Linked DNA regions of Homo sapiens: all the other regions are linked to region 3. Evidence: promoter capture Hi-C in 16 types of primary human blood cells and fetal thymus (Javierre and others, 2016). All regions are on one chromosome and are shown on one strand. The core of a region is centred on a gene start or on the middle of the fragment in contact, and the rest is flanking DNA. Distances in the headings are between cores, read along the strand shown. Region 1 overlaps AIDA (axin interactor, dorsalization associated). Region 2 overlaps DISP1 (dispatched RND transporter family member 1). Region 3 holds the start of FAM177B (family with sequence similarity 177 member B).

Region 1 (2,700 bases), core at 90-2,589, 65 kb before region 3:
AAATATGAAATGCCACAGAAGAACAGAGAAGATACTTCAATACACATAGAGACTCATTAGGTAGAAAATGCATTTAAAAGAGTTCCTAAAAAAATTTAAGCTCGAATTGTTTCCCTTACCCCAAAACAAAAACTCAAAAATTCAATCTTGGGGGTATTTTGGAATTCAAACAACATAAATCACATGCTGGCTCAGCTGGAAAATGTTATCTGTTTCCTTAACACCTTTTTCAGTATTCAAAGCACTGCTGTGATGTTTTTCCTGGAATTGCATGTTTGTGTCAAGACAGTGCTGTAGAAGACAAAGGTTCAAAGAGCAAATCTATTTATTCTGCCACTCTCCTCCAATGAGCAAGTGATAATGAGAAATTTAGACAGTTCTGGCCGGGTGCGGTGGCTCATGCCTGTAATCCCAGCACTTTGGGAGGCAGAGATGGGCAGATCACTTGAGCCCAGGAGTTTGAGACCAGCCTGGGCAACAAGGGGGTGGTAAGACCCCACCTCTACAAAAAAAATTTTAAAAATAGCCAGGCTCGGTGGCACGTGCCTGTACTCCCAGCTACTCGGGAGGCTGAGTTGGTAGGACTGCCTGAGCCCAGGGAGATTGAGGCTGCAGTGAGCCATGATCATGCCACTGTGCCCCAGCCTGTGTGACAAAGTGAGACTCTGTCTCAAAAAAAGAAAAAAATAAGAAATTTAGACGGTCCTATGTCCCCAAAGTCCAACAGATAAACTCTTCCCCCAATCCTGCAGAAAAAAGCTAAAAATGGAGAAATAAGTTGCCTCATCAATGTGGCCAACAAAAATGAATTTCTAAAGAAGGCATGGAAAGTGAAGGAAGTCAGTGTCTCACTCTTCACCAGCTACTTCTAAATACTGCCTTAACCAGAGCAGTCCAGGAGCTTGGCTTGCAAAGACAACATACATTTAATACTGCCGCTGATGACAAAACTCACAAGTCACTAGAAGTTTAGCAATGTTCAGAAATGTGTGTACAGCATTGGCACTTGGGTCCAAATGGACCACATCACATGGCAAGGGAGGAAAAAAAAACCAATTGCTCAGGAGACAATGGGATGTGGGTGAGGGAGAGATGGGCATATTTGGCCATCCACTCCCAACACGCTCGAAAGGATTACAATAGTTAGGTTACTGGTAACATCTCTTCCCTAGGTGTGTGACCTTGTCATTTCCACAAATGGTGGCTTCTCTTCTCCCTCCCACAGCACTCAGAGGCATTTTGTCATTAGAAAACCAAAGATTTTAAAGACAGCAGAGTCTTTTCTGCTAGGAAACCCATCTCCTCCTCATGATCGTGTCTTGAGGTCTGAATAAATGTGAATGATAAAGTCACGTTTCAAAACAATACTAAAGTTCAAATATGTTACCATCATTTTGAGGAAGTTAAACAAATTATTAATCTGTATCACCTGTAAATAATATATTTCCTGCATCCTTCATCATGCTTTTTATAAGAAAGAACAAAATGTGAAACAGGAATATCCTGGGAAGATTAAGTTAAAATGTTTGTAAACATGAAAGTATGGTCATTAACACTAATATCAGTTAAAACTACAGTAACAGTAAACAGTAAGTTTGAAGCTGGAAAAAATTAATAGAGTCAAATTTTGAATCTAGTTCTACTTTTATTATCTAGTGAGTCGAGCCATTAAGAAAGAACACAGTGTAATAAAATAGAAAAGTTAGCCCATGAAACACTCCACCTTCTCCCGTCCACATCACAAACATTTCCTAAGGCAATGGAGTTAAAGAAATGAAACAAATCAATAGTTTTGTTCAGAAGACATACTTTGTAACTGAAATTTCTTCAACGTTATTTATTAAGCACCTCCTACATACATAGTCTTCTAACACAGTGACTCTGGAGCTTTGGTGTATGTCAGAATCACCTAGAGGGCTTCCTAAAACAGACTGCTAGGCCCATCCCCATGGTTTCGGATTCAGGATGTCTGGGGTGGCCACCTAAGAAGGCTCCAGGTGCTGCTCCTGTTCCAGGAATCATACTCTGAGAACCACTGTTCTAACAGAAGCACTGAAAGGTCTTTTAGTGGGGGAACAGAGGAGGCAGCAGCACCAGACTTGAGAAGTGAAATATCGAATATTTCAGACGCCGAGGCAATCACTTCAAAAGGGACTTGAATATCCTACAGAGCTTGAACATTTCAGAAACTGCAACTGAACCCTCAGGTGATAAAGGGATTCTGAAGTCACCTTTTTGGAGAACACTCAAATTTCCACTGGGCGAAAAGCATGGGGAAGTATTTAATACTAAGAATCATACTTGGAAATGTAGCCTCACTATTTCAAAAATTTGCTTTTGTCCTTTCCTATTTCCTAACAATTAACTGCAAGTTAAGTTATCGTTCTACCAAACTAGAAATACTGGGAGAAAACCCTGGTTCTTAATTTGAAGATGAAAACTGAATCATCAGGGAACCTTCACGCACTCCTGCTTCTCCCAGCCCTTTAGTGTGTGAAAAACTTTGTTTTGTTGGTAAAGACAATAAAATTTTATTATCAAAGATTGTTTTACTATATAACAGTGCTATTAGACAAGTAGATAACACAATTCCTAATTTCTACATTTTAAAAATATGTATATTTATTCAAATCAATAAACACTATGTTACATTTACTTCTGCCAGATACTAACTATGCTAGGTCCACCATATGTACAAAC
Region 2 (2,700 bases), core at 54-2,553, 90 kb after region 3:
GTCTCCTTTACACTTTAATACTTTTTTTTTTTTTTTTTTTTTGAGACAGGGTCTCACTCTGTCACCTGGGCTGGAGTGCAGTGGCATGATTACAGCTCACTGCAGCTTCAACCTCCTGGGCTCGAGTGATCCTCTTGCCTCAGCCTCCTGAGTAGCTGGGACTACAGGTGTGTGCCACCATGCTCAGCTAATTTTTTTGTTTTTTAACTTCTTACAGAGATGGGGTTCTACTATGTTGCCCAGGCTGGTCTCAAACTCCTGGGTCAAACGAGCCTCCTGCCTCAGCCTCCCAAAGTCCTGGTATTTATAGACATGAGCCACCAGACCTGGCCTACACTTTAAGAATTTTTTAATGATTTGTGGTTGTTTGGTATTGGTCTTTACATTATTATATATCTGCTGAATGCTGTGTGATGGATATTAAAATTATCCACTCCTATCAGGGAGCTACTAACTAAAATGTAATTTCTTTAACCGTTGAATTTGGACAATCTGACTTCAGAGTTTTAGCTCTTAACTCCTTTACTATAAAGCTGATGCCTCCTGTTTCATAAATAATACAGCCCCTATTTAAGATTTCTACATATAACATTCCCCCATGTTATTTTCTATTAGAGTATGTGTATATATTGCAAGGTTTTCCATTTCTATTCTAATAAAACTTTCATCTTTAGTTTTAGTGGTTGTCAGTTGGTTTCTCACAAGACGTTTTCTGCCTTTAGCATTTTTATTTCAGGTAAAAGGATTATGTCACCTTGATGAGTTCTTGGCATATATGCTGTAAAGTTAGTCTTCTGTACCGGTAGAGACAAACAGTTAAAGCATGTACAGTACTTCTTTTGGATTATATTATAATTTGAGGAACAGATTTGCCATTTGAAGTTTGTCTTAGATACATAATTTTTATTCTGTAAATGTACAGATGGTGGAATTCTGGAAACATCCTGTGTTGAAGAGAAAAATTCCACTCAGAATTTAAAATTGGCCTTGGAGAATTATAAAAAGGGGTAGGGGCATGGATCATCCATATGTGGGTTATTGAATTAAATTTTTCACTTTTTTTGTTCTTAGAGTCAACTTTTATAACACTGTTACTGGGAATACTTGACTTACTAAGCTTTTACTGAACACTTTAATTTTGGGAGTACAATTTCTAAACTCACGAAATAATCTTCATGCAACAAGATGTTATTTTATCAAATTTTGGTATTACATGCTCATTCTTTGACAAATTTTAATTAACAGGTAAGTTATACATCTTTAAATTTATATAATTAATAATCATTTTTTATTTCTAGAACTGAGGTCAGGGGTAGTTAGCTATCTAAAAAGCAACAACTGGGTTTTATTTTATATGCATTGTTAATCGTGGCATTTTGCTGTGGAAGGGGCATTTGCATTAGATTTAACTTAATCTTGTGAAAATCTAAACATATTTAAGCAAAGTTTAGGGAAAATAAACTTGAGATACTACATATAATTTGATTTAGAAGCTTTTTAATCCTGAATAAGGAAGGAATACACAGAAAGTCAAGGAAAAATTCTATGTAATAGTTGTGATACTCAAGCTGAAAATAGTCTGATCCAGCAGCCTAAAAGAATGACCTCCTCACTGGTTGAGCATACTTCAGTGTCATGAAATGAAGAGGACGGGAAAAGGTGTCTGTGCATCTTTGTTTGAAGACTGTACTAGGTATAGTGTACTTGCATGTTAACTCAAATACTAGGCTAAAAAGTTTGTATTATTATTCCTCTTTTAAAGATGAGGAAACTGAAATTTTAAAAGCAGGTGACTTGTCTGTGGTTAGAAGAAATATATGCAGAATTGTGATTTATGCCCAGAATATCTGACTCCAAGACCTAAATTCTTTCTGCCATATCATATGCTTTCTACTTATCTTTTGTTTGTTTGTTTTTTATTCCATTTTCCCCCCTTTGAACTGTGTTGGAAGTTTTCTGTTCTATTTCTTTTTTTCTCTATGGTTACCGTAGAAATGTTAATATGCATACTTAACAAAGTCTAAATAAATGTAAATGCAATCTTTATCCTTCTCCTGAACCTCCTTCTGATAAGAACTATTTTTATCAGACATTATAGTTTTGGGACTTGATCTTTCAGCCCCAGAAATAACAGTGTTTATATTTACCCATATGCATTTAACCTTTTTTCCCTTGACCATTCCTTCATGTGTATCGATTGTAAGCTGAAATGTTTTTTAATTTACTCCCTCAGGAGCTTTATGTGAGATGGTCTTTGCTCAGGCTCTCCATTTCGTACAGGCCCTCAAGTTTTGCTGCCTATTACCCTATTTTCTATAGCTCCCCTCCCCATCAGGTTCATTCCACCAGGAATATGTAGATTCCCCAGGGGCACATTCGCTTTAGCACTAACTCACCTCTCTAGACTTGTACTTTTTAAAAAATTATTTCTGCCCTTGGAGCATTTCTCTTACTTTATTGTTGGCTCTTCTATACATTAAAAAAAAATTTTAAGTACTTAAATACAACAATTTTTGGTGATCTCCAGCCATGGGGCTGCATTGCCAGAAATAAAAGTCCACATTGTCATTGTGCTTCATGGGAGTATTTTGTATTGAACATGTGGGCTGGGGGATGGGTAGAGGATGTTTTTAAATTTATTTTAAAATAAGTTCCTAGAAACTGATGAAACTCTTTCATTTAGAGTCATAAGAAATAAAC
Region 3 (2,700 bases), core at 154-2,653:
TAAATGCATGCAGAAATAATACCATATTCAGAATTCTTTCAGAATTAGAGTACTCATGCTTTAGAAAATACTGGGTTTCTTATCTCTTAATGTGTGTAAAATAAACTTGGAATGTCACTTTGGGTTACCATAAGTTTGTATCTAAAGATTTTATTTGACATTTGAATAATTTGCTTAAAATTTAAATATTTAAGAATGTTATAGTAATAAAGGGATCAAAATAGTTAATCTGGAAGGGGAGTTGACAAATTATAAAACAGAAAACTATATTTGATTGTGCATATCCAAAAAGCCAGAGCTATCACTTCAGCAATTTAATGTATCTAATGCCTGTGATTTGCTTGAGGTCGGTAGAAGCTTATATAGTCACTTTCAGAGCACTCCCCTGAGAAAATGTCAAGACTTGAATTTGCTTCTCTAATGCAGAGCTTCTCAAGTAGTTTGTCTCAAGCTATTGATCGAAGCCTTCTGGGTGTCTAGCTGGGCAGCACTTAAGGTGGCTGGAGCTCCCAGGCTGGTCGCCTCCAGAATTCCAAACAACTAATTTTCTCTATCTGCCATGATGTAAAAAATGCTGTGAAACACCACAGTGGGACAGGCATGGACAGGCATGCAGGCAGTGGGGTGCATGTATGTGGTTTAATACTGAAAATAAGGATACAAAAATCCTGCCAGGTGATGCTCCTGTAATTCTCAAGGAGCGGCAGTGATTTGTTATTTCACATTTTTCCTCACTCTATCCTTGCCCCTGACACACACACTGCAAGTCACTGATTGGAGCAGGCCAGTTCCTTCAGGTGAAGGGGCCTAGAGAAATGTCGGTGAATACCCAGTGAATACCACGCTGTGAAACTCTGCATCTGAGGCACGCAGTGGGGCTTTGGTTCTCTCCTCTCACCAGGGGTTTGACCTTTCAACCACCTCAGAAAAAAGGAAAGGTGGAAGCAGGAAGGGGGACCAGCAGCTCCAGGCAAGCAATGCTAATTAGCTCCAGCGTAATGACCCAACATCAGTTCTTAGCTGAATTTTAACAGTCCATTTGAAAACATTTTCTAGATAAATGAAAATGGAAAGAGCTCTAGAAAATGTTTAAGTGTTACATACTTAAAATAGTATATTTACTTATTGAAGTTAAATGCCAAGATGTAGAACTAGTGTGTTATTTTCTTGGTACAGATTACAATGCTGTGTTTCAGTGAAGGAGCTAATTGAAATGATTAGTAGATAGATGTAATCAGAAAAATATTAAATGAAGATAGTAATTTCTAAAGCAGGAAATAAAGACAGTTACAAGTCTGTTCTTATTTTTCCAATCTGTTATATAACTCCTCCCACCCATTAACCTTAACTAAATGTATGATTCATTTGTTAAACAAATACTGAGTTCCAGCTACGTGTAAGGCATCATAGGGGCAGAAGATACAGCAGTGAACATAACAGGTAAAACCCTCCCCCTCTGCCAAGGGGCAGGACAGGGAGGAAAGGGAAGACAGAGACAGGTGGAATATGGAGTGTTCAGTGTTGGTAAGTGCTAAGGAGAAAAAATGAAACAGGAGGTAAGATGCAGAGGGTGGTGGTGAAGGCAATGGGAGGTTGCCTTGAAAGCGGAGCTCAGTGTAGTCTCCATTTGAGTTAAAGACTGGAAATGAGCAAGGAAACAGTCTAAGGAAAGAAAGACTAATAGAGCAGCCAGCAGAGAGCTCTCTGCAGAGAGAGAGGGCGGACCTGTGTGGTCAGGGAATTGCAGGAAGAAGGCCCGTGGGGTTAGAGTGATGTCAGTGGTGGGAGAGTAGTACAAGATGGCGTCAGAAAGCTCGTAGGGGTTAGGTATACAGCCTTGTAGGCCATTATGAGGAGTTTGGCTTTTACTCTAGGTGAGACGGGAACCCACTGGAGAGTTTTAAGCAAAGACATGACATGGTCTCACTTAGGATTTAACAATTCTGGCTCCTTTTCGAGCGTAGACTGGAGGGGGCCAATTAGGAGGCTGCTGCAATAATCTAGGTGAGAGACGACGGCAAGGGTGAGAGATGATAGACCAGGGTGGTAGCAGTGGAGTAATGAAAAGTATGATTCCAGAAATATCCAAGACAATTTCCTGGCAGATTTGATGTGAGGTGTGATTAAAGAAGAACCAAGAATGACTTTAGTGTTGTTGGCCTGAGCAACTGGAAGAACAGAGTTGCCATTTATTGAGATGAGAAGGCTGCCAGAAGAGTAGAGGTAAATGTGTGAGTATGTGTGTGTTGGGGGGATGGAGGGAGAGTTGCACTGAAAGCATGAGCAAAGATTTAGACAAATTAGGATTGAGATGTCCATTAGACAACTAAGAAGAGATGTCAAGCAGGTAGTTGGATCTGTGAGACTCAGGGAAAAAGTCTGACCTGGAGAATATAAATGTTACAATCATCTGTGTGTGGATAGTATTGAAAGCCACAGGGCCAAAGGAGATCATCAAGAAAGCAGATAGGAAAGAGAAGAGGTCCAATCACTGAGCCCTGGGGTAATACAATATTTAAAAGGTCAGAGAGATTATATGGCCTGTTAATTACATTATATACTTAGGAACTATCCTTCATAGTCTGTATTTGGGGTTTTTAAGAAACAAAAGGTAGAGGTGCTCCCAAGAATTAAACTGAGCCGGGCGCAGTGGCTCATGCCTGTAATCCCAGCACTTTGGGAGGCTGAGGCAGGAGGATC

Evidence for each region. Contacts are between HindIII fragments. The CHiCAGO score rates a contact against its expected background, and 5 or more counts as called.
Region 1: a fragment that was not itself captured here is called in contact with the fragment with the promoter of FAM177B in region 3 in 1 of 17 cell types (neutrophils); the score reaches 5.6 in neutrophils.
Region 2: a fragment that was not itself captured here is called in contact with the fragment with the promoter of FAM177B in region 3 in 2 of 17 cell types (total B cells and naive B cells); the score reaches 6.2 in total B cells.

The regions. Positions count from the first base shown.
Region 1 is chr1:222,670,556-222,673,255 of GRCh38, forward strand. The region is part of intron 8 of AIDA (axin interactor, dorsalization associated); the gene reads right to left. Among named protein-coding and RNA genes, the nearest start is that of AIDA, 41 kb to the right of the region's middle. The HindIII fragment of the contact is 4,852 bases long and covers 1-2,700 here.
Region 2 is chr1:222,826,357-222,829,056 of GRCh38, forward strand. The region is part of intron 1 of DISP1 (dispatched RND transporter family member 1); the gene reads left to right. Among named protein-coding and RNA genes, the nearest start is that of DISP1, 13 kb to the left of the region's middle. The HindIII fragment of the contact is 376 bases long and covers 1,116-1,491 here.
Region 3 is chr1:222,735,799-222,738,498 of GRCh38, forward strand. FAM177B (family with sequence similarity 177 member B) reads left to right here and starts at 1,404. Exons shown (of 6, transcript NM_001394345.1): 1 at 1,404-1,524; 2 at 2,106-2,223. RefSeq lists an enhancer at 646-1,187. The HindIII fragment of the contact is 3,071 bases long and covers 356-2,700 here.